Regions from separate parts of the Homo sapiens genome. Here region 2 is linked to region 1. The links are contacts of gene promoters, found by promoter capture Hi-C in blood cells and fetal thymus (Javierre and others, 2016). All regions are on one chromosome and are shown on one strand. Each heading gives the region's core, a stretch centred on a gene start or on the middle of the fragment in contact. The rest is flanking DNA. Distances are from core to core; before and after follow the strand shown.

Evidence for each region. The method cuts DNA at HindIII sites, captures the fragments that hold promoters and counts their contacts. A CHiCAGO score of 5 or more calls a contact.
Region 2: a fragment that was not itself captured here is called in contact with the fragment with the promoter of BAG3 in region 1 in 1 of 17 cell types (non-activated CD4 T cells); the score reaches 5.2 in non-activated CD4 T cells.

The regions. Positions count from the first base shown.
Region 1 is chr10:119,649,549-119,653,226 of GRCh38, forward strand. It overlaps BAG3 (BAG cochaperone 3), which reads left to right and starts at 1,832. Exons shown (of 4, transcript NM_004281.4): 1 at 1,832-2,307. The coding sequence starts at 2,128. RefSeq lists enhancers at 970-1,924, 1,305-1,384 and a silencer at 1,585-1,884. The HindIII fragment of the contact is 5,264 bases long and covers 1-2,769 here.
Region 2 is chr10:119,183,972-119,187,649 of GRCh38, forward strand. No RefSeq gene overlaps it. Among named protein-coding and RNA genes, the nearest start is that of PRDX3, 7.0 kb to the left of the region's middle. The HindIII fragment of the contact is 3,528 bases long and covers 28-3,555 here.

The DNA.
Region 1 (3,678 bases), core at 582-3,081:
CCATGCCCCGCCCCTGCATACTTTGAATCTCCCAAAACTACCAATAGCCTACTCTTGACGGAAAGCCTTGCCAATAACATGAACAGTCAATTAACACATATGTTGTATATGTATTATATGTATTCGTGCAATAAAGTAAGCTAGAGAAAAGAACATGTTAAGAAAATCATAAGGAAGAGATTTTACATTTACATAAGGAAGAGTAGTACACTTACTACTCATTTAGTGGACGTGATCATCATAAACGTCATCATCCTCATTATCTTCACGTGGAGGCTGAGGAGGGGAAGGAAGAGGAAGGGTTGATTCTCCTGTCAAGGGGTGGCAGAGACAGAAGAGGTGGAGGAGGTGGAAGGGGAGACTGGAGAGGCAAGCACATCGGTGTAACTTTTATTGAAAAAAAATCCATGTACAAGTGGACCTGCTCAATTCAAACCCATGTTAAGGGTCAACTGTACAGTAATCTGAAGTATGTAACCTGATGTTACATTTCTCTCAATCATTTCTCTCTTTCTTTCTCTCTCTTTCTTTTAAAGAGATAGGGTCTTGCTCTGTCGCTTAGGTTGGCATGAAGAGCAAAATCATAGCTCATGGCAGCTTCAAACTCCTGGGCTCAAATGAGCCTCCCACCTCAGCCTCCTGAGTAGCTGGGACTACAGGCATAAGCCACTGCACCTGGCTTATTTTTTGTTTATGCAGAGATGGGGGTCTTACTGTGTTGTCCAGGCTGGTCTCAAACTCCTGGACTCAAGAGGTCCTCCAGTCTTGACTTTCCAAAGTGCTGGCATTATAGGCATGAGCCATGGTGGCAAGCCCTCATCAGTTATTTTTCTATGATTCTGTCTCTCTGTCCCCTCCTTACAAGGAAAGTAATTTTGAAACAACCAATCCAGTCTTGGTTCTTTGTTTCTGCTTTCTTCAGCCCTTCTCTGTCTATAAAACCAACCTCTTCTGCTCAGCTCATGGGAGCACTTATTCTAATTTAATGGAGATGTTGCCCAATTTCTAGAATCACAAATAAGATCTTTAACAATAAAAGTTAAAAAATGAAAATCAACAACAACAACAACAAAAAAGATCTTTAAATGTGTTGTAATTTTCTCCTTTGACAGGTTACAAGTGCAATTGAATAAACCAAACAAAAAATGTCATGGTTATTCGGTCTTTACTTCCCAAATCAGGGTCAAGATATAAGATAGCAAGAACCAATCTCTACCATAAAAAAGATCCAGACCCAAGAAAATGTGATTTATCTTTAAAGCTGCAACGAAACTTTCTTTTTAGTCTAGGAGACTAAAAGCCATCAGTTGATACAATCTCTTTTTTTCTTGAAGTTTCCAAAGGAAGGCAGGTGAGTTTGCACTGACTTCCATTTTCTCCCTGGCTTCCTTCCGGTGTCAGATGAGAGTCCCCGCGCTCCTCCCGGACAGCCCTCAGGGTCCTCGGCTATCATATATGGGGGAGGGGGTGGAGGTGGGCGAGATGGTTTTGTTTGTACAGGAAGGACGGGCGGCAGGCACGGGGAGCACGGGCTCCGGCCCCGGGAACACTCACTCGGCGCAAAGGAGAGGGAGAGAGCGACTATGAAAGCCGAAACCCGCCCGGGGCGCACGGAGGACGGCCCCAGTCCAGCTCGTCCGGCTTCCCACCCGCAGGCGGACCCCGAAGCCGCGCCCGCGCCCGCCCGCGGCGACTCCGGCCCGGGCACGCGCACGAGTCGGAAGGGGGAGGGGCGGGAGGAGGTGGGGGAGGGGCGAGCGGGCCGAGGCCCCGCCCCCGCTCCTCTGCCCCGCCCGCCGCGATTATAGCCGATGACTCAGGGCGGAGCTCCGCATCCAACCCCGGGCCGCGGCCAACTTCTCTGGACTGGACCAGAAGTTTCTAGCCGGCCAGTTGCTACCTCCCTTTATCTCCTCCTTCCCCTCTGGCAGCGAGGAGGCTATTTCCAGACACTTCCACCCCTCTCTGGCCACGTCACCCCCGCCTTTAATTCATAAAGGTGCCCGGCGCCGGCTTCCCGGACACGTCGGCGGCGGAGAGGGGCCCACGGCGGCGGCCCGGCCAGAGACTCGGCGCCCGGAGCCAGCGCCCCGCACCCGCGCCCCAGCGGGCAGACCCCAACCCAGCATGAGCGCCGCCACCCACTCGCCCATGATGCAGGTGGCGTCCGGCAACGGTGACCGCGACCCTTTGCCCCCCGGATGGGAGATCAAGATCGACCCGCAGACCGGCTGGCCCTTCTTCGTGGACCACAACAGCCGCACCACTACGTGGAACGACCCGCGCGTGCCCTCTGAGGGCCCCAAGGTGAGCCGGGCCCGCGGCCCGCCCTGGTCGGTGGCGCCACCTCGACGGCAGGCGGCGGGGAGTGGGCTGGGCCGGGGGGACGCGAGGCGGCGGGGCCCGGGGGTCGGCGAAGGCCCCTCGCGGGCGGACACCGGCTCCGCGCCCCGCCACACACTCCCGCTGCGCCCGGACGAGTCCCCGCTCCGGACCCGCCCTTGACAGGCGTCGGGGCGAAAGGAGGCCCCGGGATTCGGTGGCCCGGGAAGCGACCCCGCAGTGGCTCCGGTGCCGTCCACGGCTCGACTCCAGGGCGGAAGGCCGGGTGTCCAGCGCTGGCCTCGCGCTCTAGGGCTGGGAGAGGGGCGGCCGGCCTGGTCAGCTCCGGAGGCCCCGGCCCACCGTGGCCCCTGCTGCCCGCTCGGCCTCCGGGCCCGGGACCCGCGGCGCACCCTGCTGACCGCGGACTCGAGGGGGACACTCGCAAGCTTGGATGGTGGTTTTGGGGGGAATTTTACCGCTCAAGTTCTCCAACTTGGTTGAGGGGTATCTTGGCTACTGTCCCATGTTAGGCACCCAATGACTCTGGAGGCTGGTGTCAAAACATTCATATATATATGTGTGTGTGTGTATTTTAAATTAAAATTGTATTATTGTTTGAAAGTGCTTTCAATATGAACGTATCCTAGTATGATTTGTAAAATAAAAAACAGGGTGTGCTTCTCCCCAGCAGTTTCTAGAGATCTAGACTAGAGATCTGAGACTGTCTTACAGTTGGCCATTGCCTTACCACATTGCCTCACACTGGAGAGAAAGAGAATGATACGTGTATATTTATAATGGCATTCGCTTCCTGCCTTGTTATGGTATTAAAATACTTAGGATTTGTTACCAGTACACAAATAACTGACTAATGATACTCTTGTGAATACAGCAGAAGTATGTCTCATTTACATACATGCAAGGATATATACTTCTTAATCCCCAAGAGCATGAAATTTGAAAATGTAAATTTGGAATGAGTGTGTTAATTTTCAAAAATCAGAGTTAGTTATACTATTCTTTCAATTTTTTATAAATTTGAGCTTTCAGGATAAAAAGTTTTTAAAATAAATATGTTATACTTAAAGCTGAATTGTTAACGCCGTCTGGGCAAGATAAAAGCAGCAAAGAGCTGGTAAATTATTTTGAAGATTTAAAAACTCACCAAATTAAAACTGCTGTGTAACCCATTGTTTTAGAAGAAAGACCTGTATTATTTCCCTTCATCTTTATGCACTTTTTGTTTTAACAATATTGATAAAACTCCGGTGCCCAGCAGTGAGACCGTGTACAGGCAGCAGTTTACATTTACGAGAGATTAGTTGTATATTTATTCTTGAAAATTAGTACAAG
Region 2 (3,678 bases), core at 542-3,041, 470 kb before region 1:
CAACAGCCTGCAGTTTTAAAGTACTTAAGCTTCAGTAGCTCAAGTCAACAAAAGGGGAGGGGGGAGGGGGGCAAAGCCAAGCCAAGGGGTCGCCTTCTCTTCTCCTTATGCCCACAGCCCTTTGCCGCCCACCTCTCCCTTCCCCATGCTGGAGGGCCTCTTGCTCTCCTATTGTAGGCGTGTGTTTTTTAGTTCCTGCACACAGGCAGTTTGGCTCATAACTAAACTTCACTATAAAAATGTAAAGCATGGTGCAAGTCAAAGCGACAGAGCAGAGTGGAGTTCCCTTAGAATTTCACCTCACTCATCCTGGTTTCAGTTTTAAAGCTCAGATGCATTAGTTAGTGCCAGCTCATAGGCAGGGTTAGGCTTCAAGGTAACATTACTTGAGGGCCTCATAATTGGCTCTGAAAGCAATTCTTTTTTTTTTTTTTTTTTGAGACGGAGTTTTGCTCTTGTTGCCCAGGCTAAAGTGCAATGGTGCGATCTCGGCTCACTGCAACCTCTGCCTCCCAGGTTCAAGTGATTCTCCTACCTCAGCCTCCTGAGTAGCTGGGATTACAGGCATGCACCACCACGCCCAGCTAATTTTGTGTTTTTAGCGGAGATGGGGTTTTGCCATGTTGGTCAGGCTGGTCTCGAACTCCTGACCTCAGGTGATTGGCCCGCAGGTGATCGGCCCGCTTCGGCCTCCCAAAGTGCTGGGATTACAGGTGTGAGCCACCGTGCCTGGCTGCTTCAAGGTAACATTACTTTCCGTCTTCCATGTAGCCCCATTCACCTGCGGCTGCCTTCAGTTAGATTTCCTGCATGATTCCTGCCCATTTTAGCCTCTGAAGTAATCTGTTTCCTGTCCTATTAGGTACCAAATAGAGAGCCCTCTGGTATTGGATCAATTAACAATGTGATTTTTTTTTTTTAGAATCTTGCTGTGTTGCCCAGGCTGGAGTGCAGTGGTGCAATCTCGGCTCACTGCAACCTCTGCCTCCTGGGTTCAAGAGATTCTTCTGCCTCAGCCTCCTGAGTAGCTGGGATTACAGGTGCCCACAACCACAACTAGCTAATTTTTGTATTTTTAGTAGAGACCAGGTTTTGCCATGTTGGCCAGGCTGGTCTTGGACTCCGGACCTCAAGTGATCCTCTCGCCTCGGCCTCCCAAAGTGCTGGGATTACAGGCATGAGCCACCGTCCCTAGCCAACAATGTGATTTTAATCATTAATAAACATGTACTGGAGAGGATCACTTAGACCCTGCTGCCGAGGAACTGTGTGTGTATCCAAGGAATACTGATAAAATCATTAAAAAAAAAACCCAGTCCAAGATTCAGCATTTTAAGAGGCATGAAAGAGGCATAATGGTTGAGTGTGGACAGCTGAGATTGACACACCAGCTCTGCTAGCTGCAGGCACGTGGCCTTGGGCAAGTTACTTAGCACATTTTCCCATCTGTAAAATTGAAATGATGTTAGTGCTTACCCCAAGGGCTTTTGTGAGGAATAAATGAGTTCATATTTTAAAGGCATTAGCACAGTCAGCAGGCACATAGTGTTCGTTATATTAAATAAAAGAGAGGTGCAAGTGAAGTGCTATCATGGTTTAGAGAAAGGGGCCAAGAAGGGCTTCACAGAGAAATCATCTATCCTGCTGCTTGGGGAAGGTGAAGGGGAAGATGGCAGGTGGAAGTGACTAGTGACCTTTGTCCCTTTGGTTTACTGTTATCTTCAGTGACCACACTATGGGGCTACGCTCTGGGTTGAATGCAGTATCTCTATTCCGTCTGCACAACCCTATGACACAGGTGCTTTTTCGGTTTGTTTTTTGTTTTGTTTTGTTTTGTTTTGTTTTAGAGTCTTGCTCTGTCACTCAGGCTGAAGTGCAATGGCATGATCTCAGCTCACAGCAAACTCCACTCCTGGGTTCAAGTGATTCTCCTGCCTCAGCCTCCCAAGTAGCTGGGATTACAGGTGCACACCACCACACCTGGCTAATTTTTGTATTTTTAGTAGAGATGGGGTTTCATCATGTTGGCCAGGTTGGTCTCGAACTCCTGACCTCAAGTGATCCGCCTGCCTCGGCCTCCCCAGGTGTAGGGATTACAGGTGTGAGCCATCACACCCAGCCACAGGTACTGTTTTTAATTCATCATCCCCATTTCCAAGGTGAGGAGACTGATGCTTGGGAAGGTTTAGTAATTTGTCCAAAGTCCCACAACTGGAAAGGGAAGGAGCCAGGATTTAAACCTTGAAAGCTGACTGCAGAGCCCCCATTCCTTTTCATTTTTATTGTTTTTTGTTTGTTTGTTTGTTTTTGAGACAGGGTCTCTCTCTGTCATCCAGGCTGGAGTGCAATGGCACAACCATGGCTCACTGCAGCCTCAACCTCCTGGGCTCAAACAATCCTCCCACCTCAGCCTCCCAAGGAGCTGGGACCACAAGTGTGTATCACCAAGCCCAGCTAATTTTGTTAGTTTTTGTAGAGAAGGGTCTTCCTATGTTGTCTAGGTTGGTCTCAAACTCCTGGGCTCAAGCAGTCCTCCTGCCTTGGCCTCCCAAAATGTTGGGATTACCGGTGTGAGGCCAGAGCCCCAACTCTTTTTTTTTTTTTTTTTTTGAGATGGAGTCTCGCCCTGTCGCCCAGGCTGGAGTGCGGTGGCGCAATCTCAGCTCACTGCAAGCTCCGCCTCCCGGGTTCACGCCATTCTCCTGCCTCAGCCTCCCGAGTAGCTGGGACTACAGGCGCCCGCCACCACACCTGGCTAATTTTTTTGTATTTTTAGTAGAGATGGGGTTTCACCGTGTTAGCCAGGATGGTCTCCATCTCCTGACCTCGTGATCCACTCACCTTGGACTCCCAAAGTGCTGGTATTACAGGCGTGAGCCACCGTGCCTGGCCAAGTGCCCCAACTCTTAAAGCAATATTGTATGACCTCCTACAGTATTTGTTGGAGCATAATGTGCTTGATGGGACATAATAGGAGATGGTACTATAAATGTGGGCTGTGTGAGGACATGAAGGAGCACTGACCATCTGTCCTTTAGTGAAATATCTCAAGTACTCCACTCCCAGGCACCAGGCCTCACTGTGGATTCTGTCCATTGATGCGGTACGCTGTGCTCTTTTGCCTAAGCATTTCTAATAGGTTCCGCCCCTGCAATTGATGTTCACCACCTTGGGGCCCACTCTACTCTCAGCCTTCTTTTTTTTTTTCTGACGGAGTCTCACTCTGTCACCCAGGCTGGAGTGCAGTGGTACCATCTCGGCTCACTGCAACTTCTGTCTCCCAGGTTCAAGCAATTCTCCTGCTTCAGCCTCCTGCGTAGCTGGGATAACAGTGCCCGCCACCACGCCTGGCAAATTTTTTTGTATTTTTAGTAAAGACAGGGTTTTCAATGTGTTTCAGCACATGGCCAGGCTGGTCTTGAACTCTTGACTTCAAATGATCTGCCCGCCTTGGCCTCCCAAAGTGCTGGGATTACAGGTATGAGCCACTGTGTTCGGGCGACTCTCAGCCTTCCTTTCCTTCTCTGGGGTCTGTCTGTTCCTGTCTTCCTGCCAAGCTTGTGAAAGGAAGGCACCCACTTATTTGTGACAACGAAAAATGTTTCCAGATGTTGCCAAATGTCCCCTGGGGACAAGAGAACCCCCAGAGGAAACCACTGCTCTAATGGTAATGGCACA